2 separate regions of the Homo sapiens genome follow, and region 1 is linked to region 2. The links are contacts of gene promoters, found by promoter capture Hi-C in blood cells and fetal thymus (Javierre and others, 2016). All regions are on one chromosome and are shown on one strand. Each heading gives the region's core, a stretch centred on a gene start or on the middle of the fragment in contact. The rest is flanking DNA. Distances are from core to core; before and after follow the strand shown.

What was found. The method cuts DNA at HindIII sites, captures the fragments that hold promoters and counts their contacts. A CHiCAGO score of 5 or more calls a contact.
Region 1: a fragment that was not itself captured here is called in contact with the fragment with the promoter of GNPDA2 in region 2 in 1 of 17 cell types (total B cells); the score reaches 5.0 in total B cells.

What each region holds. Positions count from the first base shown.
Region 1 is chr4:51,835,462-51,841,582 of GRCh38, reverse strand. It overlaps a transcript of DCUN1D4 not described here. Among named protein-coding and RNA genes, the nearest start is that of DCUN1D4, 4.6 kb to the left of the region's middle. The HindIII fragment of the contact is 1,059 bases long and covers 1,162-2,220 here.
Region 2 is chr4:44,724,340-44,730,462 of GRCh38, reverse strand. It overlaps GNPDA2 (glucosamine-6-phosphate deaminase 2), which reads left to right and starts at 3,907. Exons shown (of 7, transcript NM_138335.3): 1 at 3,907-3,989. RefSeq lists an enhancer at 3,575-3,704 and a silencer at 4,197-4,491. The HindIII fragment of the contact is 3,169 bases long and covers 2,690-5,858 here.

The sequences.
Region 1 (6,121 bases), core at 442-2,941, 7.1 Mb before region 2:
TCTCAGAACTGTACCTGAAGTTATTTATTATTTGCTTCAGGTTCTTTCGCAAGACAAGAATCTCTCATAGAACATCCTTATTGATCACCTTTATCATGACAGTACCTCAGCGGGGCCCCACAGTGATGGGTAGGTACCTCTGGACTCTGAGATAGGGGATTGCTTGTTGGGCAGATCTAGCAGTAAGAATATCCGCCCTTACTCTGAGCAGGGAAGCTGCTCCTGCATTCTTTATTCTATTTATGTTTCAGCTTAATCTACATCTAGGAAATAATAAATTATATGTCATTTAATACAAGTTTCAAATCTTTTGTGTGTGTAATATTTATGATTTTTTTTTTTACCGTTTACCATGGTACTTCAAAGACTGAGACACATGTTATTTTGCACAGAAAAGGGCTTCCTTCGTGACACCTCTAAATTACAATAAGCCCACAATTAATTATAGCTAGTCATTTGCTCTATTAATTTATTTGCAGCATACTTTATAATAATGTGTATAAGAGTTAAGCTAGATGAAGGATGGGTCGGCTGCTTTGCCCCAGCTCCCAACACTGGCCTGGCATATGCATGGTGTCCATAAAAATTTATAGAATGTACAACCTCTGTTATTTCTCAACATTGCTTTCAGTTGAGTCAGTATGATTATTTTCAAGTAGAAAACAGACTTAGAGGTAATTTACCCAGATCTTTATAAAGAGTCAGCTATAGCCTAAGGATTGAGAGGCAAAGCTCATTCCTAGTCGGCTGACCCTCACTGCCCCCACGTTTTACAAAGTATAATAAAATGACTACATAATGCTCTGCAAATATTACCTGGTCATTTAAATAATCCACACCATATAAACCTCTGATATCAGGAAACTTGTTATAGTTATCTTTTTACTTGCCTAGCACCTAGTACAATGCTTTCAAATATTGTGGTAGGCACTGGTTAACCATACCCCTTAAAATGAATGTTTACCGTACATGAAATTTTAGATCTGGATAGGAACCTTGGTGATTATCAAATCCAACATCTTCATTTTAAAAATAAGAGACTTGACATCCAAAGGAGTTAAATGTTTAATCTGAGTCACTTGGCTAGTTGATAACAAAACAGGGCTTAAATTCAGGTTTCTCAACTCTATCCCCTGTACCACACTGTCTAATATCAAAGCTTCAAATTCCAAAGATAGGTAAACTACTCTCCCTTCCCATCTGAAAGTTACTATGCCAATCTAATACAAGTCTGCTTCATGGTTGAAATGTTGCCTTCTTTTTTATGTATTTCATTCAGGATTTTTTTCAATATGTAAATCAATACTTCACTTTTTTTTTTCTCATTTGTAGTATTCCCAAAGAACATGATCCCCATGGAGAGGTTTACTGAGATAATAATGTTATACTTCTGTACATTTATATTTGAATCCCTGGAGAAAAAAATTAATAATTGAATATCTTGGGACTGTGATGGGTAGAGATATTTGGAGATGCAGTCTTTATGCCATTTCATTTCACCCAGTTACTGCTTTAAGGTAATATTGAAGCAAGTTACTCCATGTTAATGATACCTAATTTAATTGGAATTTTTCTATTTTATTAGTCATACAATATTAATTTTAATCAGATATATTTTGAAATGCCCTAAGCCTAGATTAGAATGTGATATGGAGAAGTCTAGTAAGAGAAAAAAAACAGCAGAGCTCTTCAATCAAATGTTACGCTTTCCCCTAAATTCTGCTAAGCCCACTGTAGCATGCTTTTCCTGCATGTGTTGGGATTGGGAGTAGGAGGAAGAATAGCATAGTTCTTGAGACTGAAAATAAGTTGGGCCTGCACAGACAGATAAATGTGTCCCTGGTAAGATTTAAAGAGAATAAGAAAGAACACAGGACAGAGAGGAATTAATTTGGCCTTAGATTACAGTGAGAGAGTTGGCAGAACTCCTTTAGTAATAAAATGTCAGGCTAGGTGGGTTTCTAGTATTTGGAAATGAAAATAAACCCCCTCCGAAAGGAGAATTTATCCATAGAGGGCAGGATAGTTTTCTTTCTCCAAATATGACCAACTGAATTTGCTGTCCCAAGTGATAACAACTTCTTTCTTAATGCTTCCTATGTGACGGGCACTACTCTAATAGTACTGTACTGGTAAACTAATCTACTTAACTTCACAACAACACAGTGGAGTACTAATAACTAATAGTATCCCCAATCTACAGGTAAGTTAACTGAAGCTTCAAGAGCTTCGGTAACTTGCCACCCAGCTAATAAGTAAACGTGCCCCTAAGTAGCCAGACTCCATGTTTTTAATATTCCTGTGTTGGGCTTTAGTTTCTTTCTTTCTTTCTTCCTTTCCTTCTTTTCTTTCTTTCTTTCTTTCCTTCCCTCCTTCCTTCCTTCCTTCCTTCCTTCTCCTTTCTTCCTTCCTTCCTTCTCCTTCCTTCCTTCCTTCCTTCCCTCCCTCATTCCCTCCTTCTCTCCTTCCCTTCTTCCTTCCTTTTCTCTCTCTCTCTCTGTCTCTTTTGAGACGGAGTCTCACTCTGTCGCCCAGGCTGGAGTGCAGTGGTGGGATCTCCATTCACGGCAACCTCTGCCTCCTGGGTTCAAGTGATTCTCCTGCCTCAGCCTCTCAAGTAGCTGGGATTACAGGCACACGCCACCACACCCGACTAATTGTTGTGTTTTTAGTAGAGACGGGGTTTTGCCATGTTGGCCAGGATGGTCTCAAACTCCTGACCTCAGGTGATCTGCCCGCCTCAGTTCCCAAAGTGCTGAGATTACAGGCATGAGCCACCGCACCTGGCCAGTTCCTTCTCTTTTTAATCAGGTTAATATATGCCCCTATATACCTCAGAGATTATTTATAAGGATACAATAATATGGTTGTTAACATGCTCTCAAAAGATAGTGAAATCAGGCTGGGCATGGTGGCTCATGCCTGAAACCCCAGCACTTTCGGAGGCTGAGGTGGGTGGATCACTTGAGCCCAAGAGTTTGATACCAGTCTGGGCCAACACAGGGAGACCCTATCTCTACAAAAAAATGCAAAATTATCTGGGTGTGGTGGCAGCTGCCTGTAATCCTAGCTACTCAGGTGGCTGAGGTGGGAGGATCCCTTGAGCCCTATGGGTGGAGGCTGCAGTGAGCTGAGATCACGCCACTGCACTCCAGCCTTGGTGACAGAATGAGACCCTGCCTCAAATAAATAAATAAATAAATAAAGTGAAACCAGGCCTCTTTTTAGGGATGAACATCTAGCCACTCAGGCTCCTTTTATAGATCTATATAATGAAAAGTATGGGTCAGAAGGATTACATCCAGGTTACTAAATTCTTATTTATTTTACCCTTTTGACCTTATCCCCACAGCAAATGAGATTATTTATTCAGAGTGTCTAATGAAGCTCTGCTGAATGTTATAAATTCTCGACTTCGATATATCACTGAGAACCCAGGCTGGAGTGCAGTGGCATGATCTTGGCTCACTGCAATCTCCATCTCCTGAGTTCAAGTGATTCTTGTGGCTCATCGTGTAGCTGGGACTACATGCGTGTGCCACCATGCCCGGCTAATTTTGTATTTTTAGTAGAGACAGGTTTTCACCATGTTGGTCAGGCTGGTCTCTAACTCCTGACTTCAAGTGATCTGCCCGCCTCAAGCCTCTCAAAGTGCTGGGATTGCAGGTATGAGCAATAGTGCCTGGCCCTATACTTTTAAATTTTCTAGAAAATCCTGATATCTTTCCTCATGAAGGAGCCATCTTAGAAATCTCTCAGAAAAGCTAAGAATTTTCCAATTATATTTGACATCTGTGTTTCAGTTTTAATTTCGTTTAGCAATGATTTTTTTTTGCCTCTCCTGGATATAGAGAAAATATCATTTATTTGTAAATTATTTCTAACTTCTAAGATTTCTTTTTTTTTTTTTTTTTTTTTTTTTTTTTTTGAGACGGAGTCTCGTTCTGTCGCCCAGGCGGGAGTGCTGTGGCGCGATCTCCGCTCACTGCAAGCTCCGCCTTCCGGGTTCACGCCATTCTCCTGCCTCAGCCTCCCGAGTAGTTGGGACTACAGGCGCCCGCCACTGCGCCCGGCTAATTCTTTGTATTTTTAGTAGAGACGGGGTTTCACCGTGGTCTCGATCTCCTGACCTCGTGATCCGCCCGCCTCGGCCTCCCAAAGTGCTGGGATTACAGGCGTGAGCCACCGCGCCCGGCCTAAGATTTCTTAACACATCACTATCAGGGTAGCATTAGCAAGTCTTTTTGCTAATATTTTATTCCAGTACAGCCATAGAATTCTTAAACTGACTCTTTTCCTTTTTACTCAGGACCTTTTATTTTATGGAAATCACACCTGCCTAGGGAATTAACAAAGTATTTGAATAAAAATGTATTCATTCATTACCACATGTTCTTCTCTGAATTGAGTACTTTCACCTTATTCTGCATTGAGCTAATCAAGTCCTAATGATGCTGCATTAAATTTGATCTCAGAAGGTGCAATTTTCCAACTGAGTCTAAACAATGCATGACCTTTATGGTGTTTTTCATAAATATAGCATTGTTTCAATTACTCCAGCTAGCAGGGGCTGGACAGAAAGAATAATCATTTTATTTGGATAATGGCTTCTGTGTATTGTCAGGCTCTTAATTTCTCCTTGCCTTCTCTAGCCTGCTACCATGAATACAGTGTCTTTCTAACATCCCTCTCAGGGCAGTACAGGAGACCCCATCCATCTCCGGTTGTTGGTGGCTGCATGGCAGCTGAGCATCTCATTATGGCAAAGTGAAGCATTCTGGGAGAGTGGATGGGGAAGGCAGACAGCAATAGGAAATGGGGGAGGGAAGAGGAGGATGGGAGCTGTGGAAAATATGTGCTCACTTCCTTGGTGATGATAATGTGTTATGGAAGTAAGAACTTCCTGTCCTAGTGGGGAAGAGCATGAAGTATGTCAAAAACCCATGATTAAGCAGATTCCAGACCCTACAACCGGGTTACAGCCGCCTCAGCCACCCCGTTCTGCCCAACACTCAGATCTGAACCCCCAGTTGAATCTACCACAGGGGCTATGTTGGTGGGAGGAAAGCAATGAATCCAAGCACTGAAGAAAAATCTATGGTTCCAAAATTGAAAAAGAAATAAATTTGGACACACACACATATGTTCATCTGCAGGCACGCACACAAACACATGCAAACCACTAGCTTACCCCATTGAAAAATATTTATTTCCAACTAACCCGAATGCTTACATTTTACTTTGTTACACTGCCTCAGCTAAGACAGGTTAAAGCAAATGGTCCTTAACATTTTAGGGGTCACAGACCCCTTTTACTAATCATTCACAGTGATGATTATCAAAGGCCTGCAACCCACTCATGCTACCCCACCAGCTCCTGAGTTAAGAATTCCTAGATTAAACATTCAAGTTAACAAGTATTTTATTTTTAAAAGCCAGGGGCTTTAGGGAACAATCCATGGCTCTCAGTAATTTTGTTAGTGAGAGATTAGTTCCACTCTGTTAGCTTTCCTCCCGAGTCTGGTTGACATCTGAGCCTGCACTCAAATGATGGGAATTCTGTTAGGGGGCTGGTGGGTTAAGTGAACAGTTTCAGGCTGTGGAGCAGTGGGAGGAGGAAGGCTTGGCTTGGGGGGCCAGTATTTTAAGGCAGTGGGAAGGTACTTTACATGAAGCAAGAGAGGAGAAGAGCTCTTGGAGATGAAATGCCAAGAATAGATTTCATCTCTTTCGAAATTTTACCCAATTCCAGCTCCAAACAGGGGTCTAGTCAGAACTGCTTCTTGTGAGGCCACCCACACCCAGACACAGGTACCCCCACCCACAGTCTTCCTTTGCCATCTCTCTCATCTCATCATGGCATTCCCTCACCCTCAACCCGAGGCCCCAAGCAGCTCCTCAAGCCCCAGAAATGCCCCAGACCTCCCAGCTGCCCTGTCCCCACCCCACAGGCTAGTCTTAGCCTACAAGTCCAGCCTTGGGCCCCCACAATAGCTTCTCTCTTATTCTTTACTCTTCCATCTCACAAGCACTTTTTCTGGCTTCAAAGCACCATCACCACAACCTCAGTGGTTCCTAAACCTCCATTCACATTTTATAGCTTTAGCTTTGAGAAACATTT
Region 2 (6,123 bases), core at 2,658-5,157:
TAACAGGTGATGAGGTCTCTTTTGATGTGGGGTGGGGGATAGAAATAGAAAAACAGAATTAGATAGTGGTGATGGTTACATATCATTGTGAGTATACTGAAAGTCACTGAACTGTATACTTTAAAAGCCTGAGTTTATAGTATGTGAATTACATCTCGATGAAAATTATGTAATAGATAACCTGAATAATCCTGTATTTATTCAGGAAATTGGATTTATAGTTAAATTTTTTCAAAAAAGAAAACTCTATGTACGTACGGCTTCTCTAGTGAATTCTATCAAGTATTTAAAGAATACATTATGTTACTATAATTCAACACAAATTATTCCAAAACATTGAAGAGGGAAATTTTCCCACTCAATTTATAAGTTTGTTATTACTATGATACTAAAACTAGACAAAGACTTCACACACAAAAAAAAACTAATAAACAAAAAAACTATGGACTGATATCCCTCATACACATAGGTGTAAAATTTTTAAACAAAATTTTAGAACATTGAACCCAACAATAAATGTATAAGAAAGACCCTGACCAAGAAAAACAATGACCAAATCTAATTTTCTCCAGCAATAAAAGTGCACTCAACATTGAATTCACCAACATATTAGAGTGGAAAACCATACAACCATTTCAATAGATACATAGAAAGTGTTTGACAAAATTCAACATCCATTGTTGATTAATAAAACAACTATCAGCTATTAGTGAAATGCCTGATACCAAGGCTGGGTAGGAAAAATACAAGGTACACTCAGAGTCGTTCCGTGTTGGAGTCTTCATAACATACAGTCATGCATCACTTAATTATGGGGATACATTCTGAGAAATGCATCTTCAGACGATTTCATTATAGTGTGAATGTTATACAGTATATGCACACAAACCTAGCATATATACACAAACTACACATATATGGTATAGCCTATTGCTCCTAGACTACAAACCTGTACAGCATATTACTGAATACGGTAAGCAATGTAACACAATGGTATATATTTGCATATCTAAACAAAGAAAAGGTATAGTAAAAAAAAAAGTATAAAAATTAAAAAATATTAACAGTACACCTGTATAGGACATTTACCATGAAAGGAGCTTGCAGGACTGGAGGGTGCTCTGGGTAAGTCAGTGAATGAGTGGTGAGTGAATGTGAAGACCTAGGACATTACTGTACACTACTGTAGATTTTATAAACAATGTAGAGTTAGGCTACACTAAATTTATAAAACGATGTTTTTTTTCTTCAATAGTAAATTTAATTTCCTGTAGCTTTCTTACTTTATATTTAAATTTTTAAAAAACTTTTTGGCCGGGAGTGGTGGCTCACGCCTGTAATCCCAGCACTATAGGAGGCTGAGGAGGGGGGACCATGGGGTCCGGAGATCGAGACCATCCTGGCTAACACAGTGAAACCCCGTCTCTACTAAAAACACAAAAAATTAGCCGGGTGTGGTGGCATGCGCCTGTAGTCCCAGCTACTCGGGAGGCCGAGGCAGGAGAATTGCTTGAATCTGGGAGGTAGAGTTTGCAGTCAGCCAAGATTGCGACACTGCATTCCAGCCTGGACAACAGAGTGAGACTCTGTCTCAGAAAAAAAAAAAACTTTTTGACTCTAGTAACAACGTTAAGGTTAAAACACACATTGGAGAGCTGTCCAAAAATATTTTGTTTCTTTATATCCTTATTCTATAAGTTTTTTTATTTTAAAATCTATTTTTAATTTTTTTCCTATTCAAATTTTTTTGTTAAAATGAAGACACAAACACACATGTTAGCCTAGGCCTACACAAGGTCAGGATTATCAATCTCCCTGTCTTTCACTTTCACATCTTATCCCACTGGAAGTTCATCAGGGCAATAATGCACATGGAGCTCTCATCTATAATAACAATGCCTTCTTCTGGAATACCTCCTGAAAGACCTCCTTGAGGCTGTTTTATAGTTAACTTTTAAAAATATAAATAGGGCCAAGCATGGTGGCTCACGCCTATAATCCCAGCACTTTGGGAGGCCGAGGCAGGCAGATCACGAGGTCAGGAGTTCGAGACCAGCGTGGCTAATAAGTGAAACCCCGTCTCTACTAAAAATAAAACAAAATTAGACGGGCGTGGTGGCAGCTGCCTGTAATCCCAGCTACTCAGGAGGCTGAGGCAGGAGAATTGCTTGAACTCAGGAGGCAGAGGTTGCAGTGAGCCAAGATTGTGCCATTGCACTCCAGCCTGGGTGACAGTGCGAGACTCTGTCTCAAAAAAATAAACAAATAAATAAAAATAAAAATAGAAATAGAATGAATACACTCTAAAATAATGATAAAGAGTATAATATAGCAAATACATATACCAGTAACATAGTCATTTATTATCAAGTATTATATCCTGTACATAATTGTATGTGCTAGACTTTTATGAGACTGGAAGCACAGTAGGTTTACACCTATGTAGCCACAAACACGAGTGGTGTTGCTCTACAACTTTACGTTTACTACAATGTCGCTAGGTGATAGGAATTTTTCAGTTCTGTTATAATCTTATGGGACCATTGCCAAATATCCAGTCCATTCTTTACCTAAACTTCCTTATGTGGCACATATCTGTAATTCAAGACTGTAATTCAGTCTCCACCTTTCTACAGCATTCTTTCTAAAACACGTATGTTCTAGTCTCTTATCTTCAATTCATAAAGCTTAAGTGACTCCCTATTGCCTACAATACAAAGCCTAAATTCTATGCATAGCCTACAAACTACTTCATCATTTTACCTCAATCTTTTTTGGAGAGACAGGGTCTTGCTATGTTGCCCAGGCTGGTCTCCAACTCCTGGGTTCAAGCCATCCATGCACCATGACCTCTGAAAGTGCTGGGATTACAGGCGTGAGTCACCGAATCTGGCCAAAAATCGCTTTTGCAAACTTACTGAAGGCGATAGTACTAATAAACCTGTCTATTATCAGTATGTGAGCAATGTTGCTGTTTGAAGCTAAATCAACGAGAATGTAACATCCTACTCTTCACTAAAGGATGCAAGAGGAGTCATTACATTCAAAGAAGCAGGCTGGATTTACAACCCAGGTGAAAAACTTCATATAACGAGTTTGAGGACACAGCGTTTTACATTTTTTTAACTTGTAGTTTCCACAGAAACAGAACCTTAAGTTGGCTAGGAGTCAAGATTGTATTGTTCCTAACAGAACCCTAAACGGTGTTATTAATGGAACAGTGTTCCTGATGGAACATGGTGAAGACACAACACACTTTTCTCCTTTTGAATGATAGCTGCTTTCTTTACAATAATTTCCACAGCCCAATTCCTTCCCACTCCTGTATAAACATCTGTGATACCCAGCTCAAAGCTGATTCCAGCTTCCCCTATCCCTTTCTTAGACTCATTCAGCAAAAGCCAGTACCCTATTATATAGTGTTTTCTCTTACTGAGACGCTCCCGATTTCCCATGGTACTGTTTGCCCTTTTGCAAACTTTGATGAGTTTTTTGACACAAGACGCTTATCTGTCATTGCGTTTGCAAATATGCATTCAATAGCTTGGAGTAGAGAGAGAAATGTATTCATAAATGGCAAATATATTCATGTTGCCAAACAGCAACATAAGCAACAAAGTACGTGTGAGCACTACGGTCTTACATACTAAATCTCATAAGCCTAAAGAATCTACTGCAAATCCCTCTTTGAAAGATGGGGGGGAGGGGAAAGTAGCGTAAAGTGATGACCCAGAAACTGCGATCTTCCAGGCAAGAAGAGCGCCCAGCCGCACCGCACTCGGACCGAACTCCTCGCGTCTCACCTCAGGCGTCCTAAAGGCGGTGCGCATGCGCAGCGCCCGCCAGCCACGCCGCGGTTCCTTCCTGCGCCTTTATCTGCATCCGGGTCCGTGGGATTCGCGCTCCACTGGTCAGCTGGGGTCGCTCTCGGGTGGTTGGGTGTTGCTTGTTCCCGCTGTTCCAGCATCGAAGAACCATTGGGTCTGCCGGTAAGTTTAGCGGGGGGTGCGGCGGGGGCGCCAAGAAGGGGACTCGGGTCGGGGGACCCGACGGCAACTTCGCCCTGTGCGGCCTTTGTGCTGAGACTGGGACGCCGGGCCGGGGCGGAATGGGTGCTCAGGAACCTCGAGGCTGGGGGCGCGTGGGGTCTCCCGTATTGCCACTCGCGGACCTGGTTGTCCTCTCCGGATTTGTGCCTACGGGAGAAGGCGTCCCTGCCCTCTCCTCTCTCGCGGCTTCTTCTTGACACCTCTCTCTACACTCGTTAAAAATTCCTAACAGTCATCCTCATTTGCATTCGCTGTCCTTTGCCAAGTGAGGGCCAGGCAAACGCGCAGCTGAGGGGAATCTGCAGCCCCCGCCTCCCGGGCAGGAACCACAGCCTTCTTTGCTGTCTCTCGTCCCTCCTCGGGTCGGTCCCACACGCGCGGCCAGGCCACCCTTACGCTTTCAGGACAGGTCAGGTTGAGTAGGGAAAAGCTCAGAGCAGAGGTTCTGCAAGTGTAGATTCTGGTCTTGGCCCCGCCATTAACTAGCTGTGTAACTTCACGGGTGTAGAAGTTGTCATCCACCATTGAAGTTTTGCGATTTATATTCAGCAGCCCTTTTTCCTAGCGATGCACATCCAAAATGAATCAGCACCTGAAGGAAGACGAGGGAAAGGGTGGTGCTCTGTTGTTTTTTGATGCTGTCTTGTGATGCCAGAGAATTGCATAAGGCGACAATAGTTTGGATCTCTGAGGATTGGCAAAAACTGGAAAAGTCAAATCTTAAAAACTTAAATGTGGTGAAGAAATTCTTCTTTGCTCTGGGTGAAGGGATTCATTTGGGACTTTTGGAGGTGACTCTGCGCCCTCCAGAGAGTTTAAGAAAACAAAAAGTTGCCTGTACCTTGGTCTGAGAGACTTGCTTAAACTTCGTTTCAGTGAGATGTGTGGTGTTCTTAACAAATTTCACCTGATTATGAATATCCCCTGTGATAATTTGCAAAAGCAGAGATTCCTTGGACTTCATTTCAGATCTTTTGAAACACTGTGTCTAGGGAGAGGGACCTGAGAATCTGTATTTTTAACTAGCATCGTAAGTGATTCTCAACCGGTAAGACATCTTTGGCTAATGTCTCTTTGAGTCAGAAACACTTAGTTTTAAAGCCAGCTCCCCGGGCCACTTTTTAACGTCAGCAATAAACTTCTCGTAGTTGCAGTTTTCTGTATATGAAGAGTGAGAATAATGCTTTCAACCTCAGAGACAAGTGATTCTAAGCCCTTTGACAATAGAGTTAATCATTTTTGTGTCTACAGAACCTAGCATAGTGCTTAGAATATAATAGGTCTTCAAACGTGTGTTGAACTGAGAAAAATAACATGCCCAGGATGCAGAAGACATTGGAAAGCTCTAATGCTTCTCGTCCTCCTTACCTTATTTTTTTTCCGTTTTATTAACAATCAGCTGGCCATATATTCTTGTTAGAAGTAAATATATCTTTTGATGTTCATTACAGCCAATAATTCTTTCTGATTCTTTGGTTTAACTCTAAAATTGTTTTTGACATTAGATTATGGATTATATTTAAGTGGAGGCTGAGTCCAGTTGTTGGACTGAATTTATGACTTACTATGTAATTTATTTTCTGTAAATAAATAATTGTTATCGGGCCAGAATTCTAGATCATGGTGACCATGATTTTTTGTTGTTGTGTCAGAATTCGAAACTGTTACCTTCTTAAAGACATTTAGATTCCATACATTTATTTTAATAAGACCTTTTAATCTCATTAATTTAGAAAATTTGACTTATTACTCTATGTAAAGTGTGTGGGTACAAAACTCAGGAATGCTGAAACCATGTTATAAAAAGCTTGGTATTGGTGACTGATCCATTTAATATAAAAATAAGAATTAAAAATCTAAGAATTATGGGAATTATTACAGAATGTTCAGTAAATGTTATAAGGGGACGTTTATAAACTATTGATGGTAATGTCAGTTCAACTTCTGTAGAAAAAAGTATGAAGATTTCTCAAAGAACTGAAAATAGAACTACCATTTGATCAGGCAATCTCACTACTGGGTATCTACCCGAAGGAAAATAATTCATTATATCAAAAAGATACCCGCATTCATT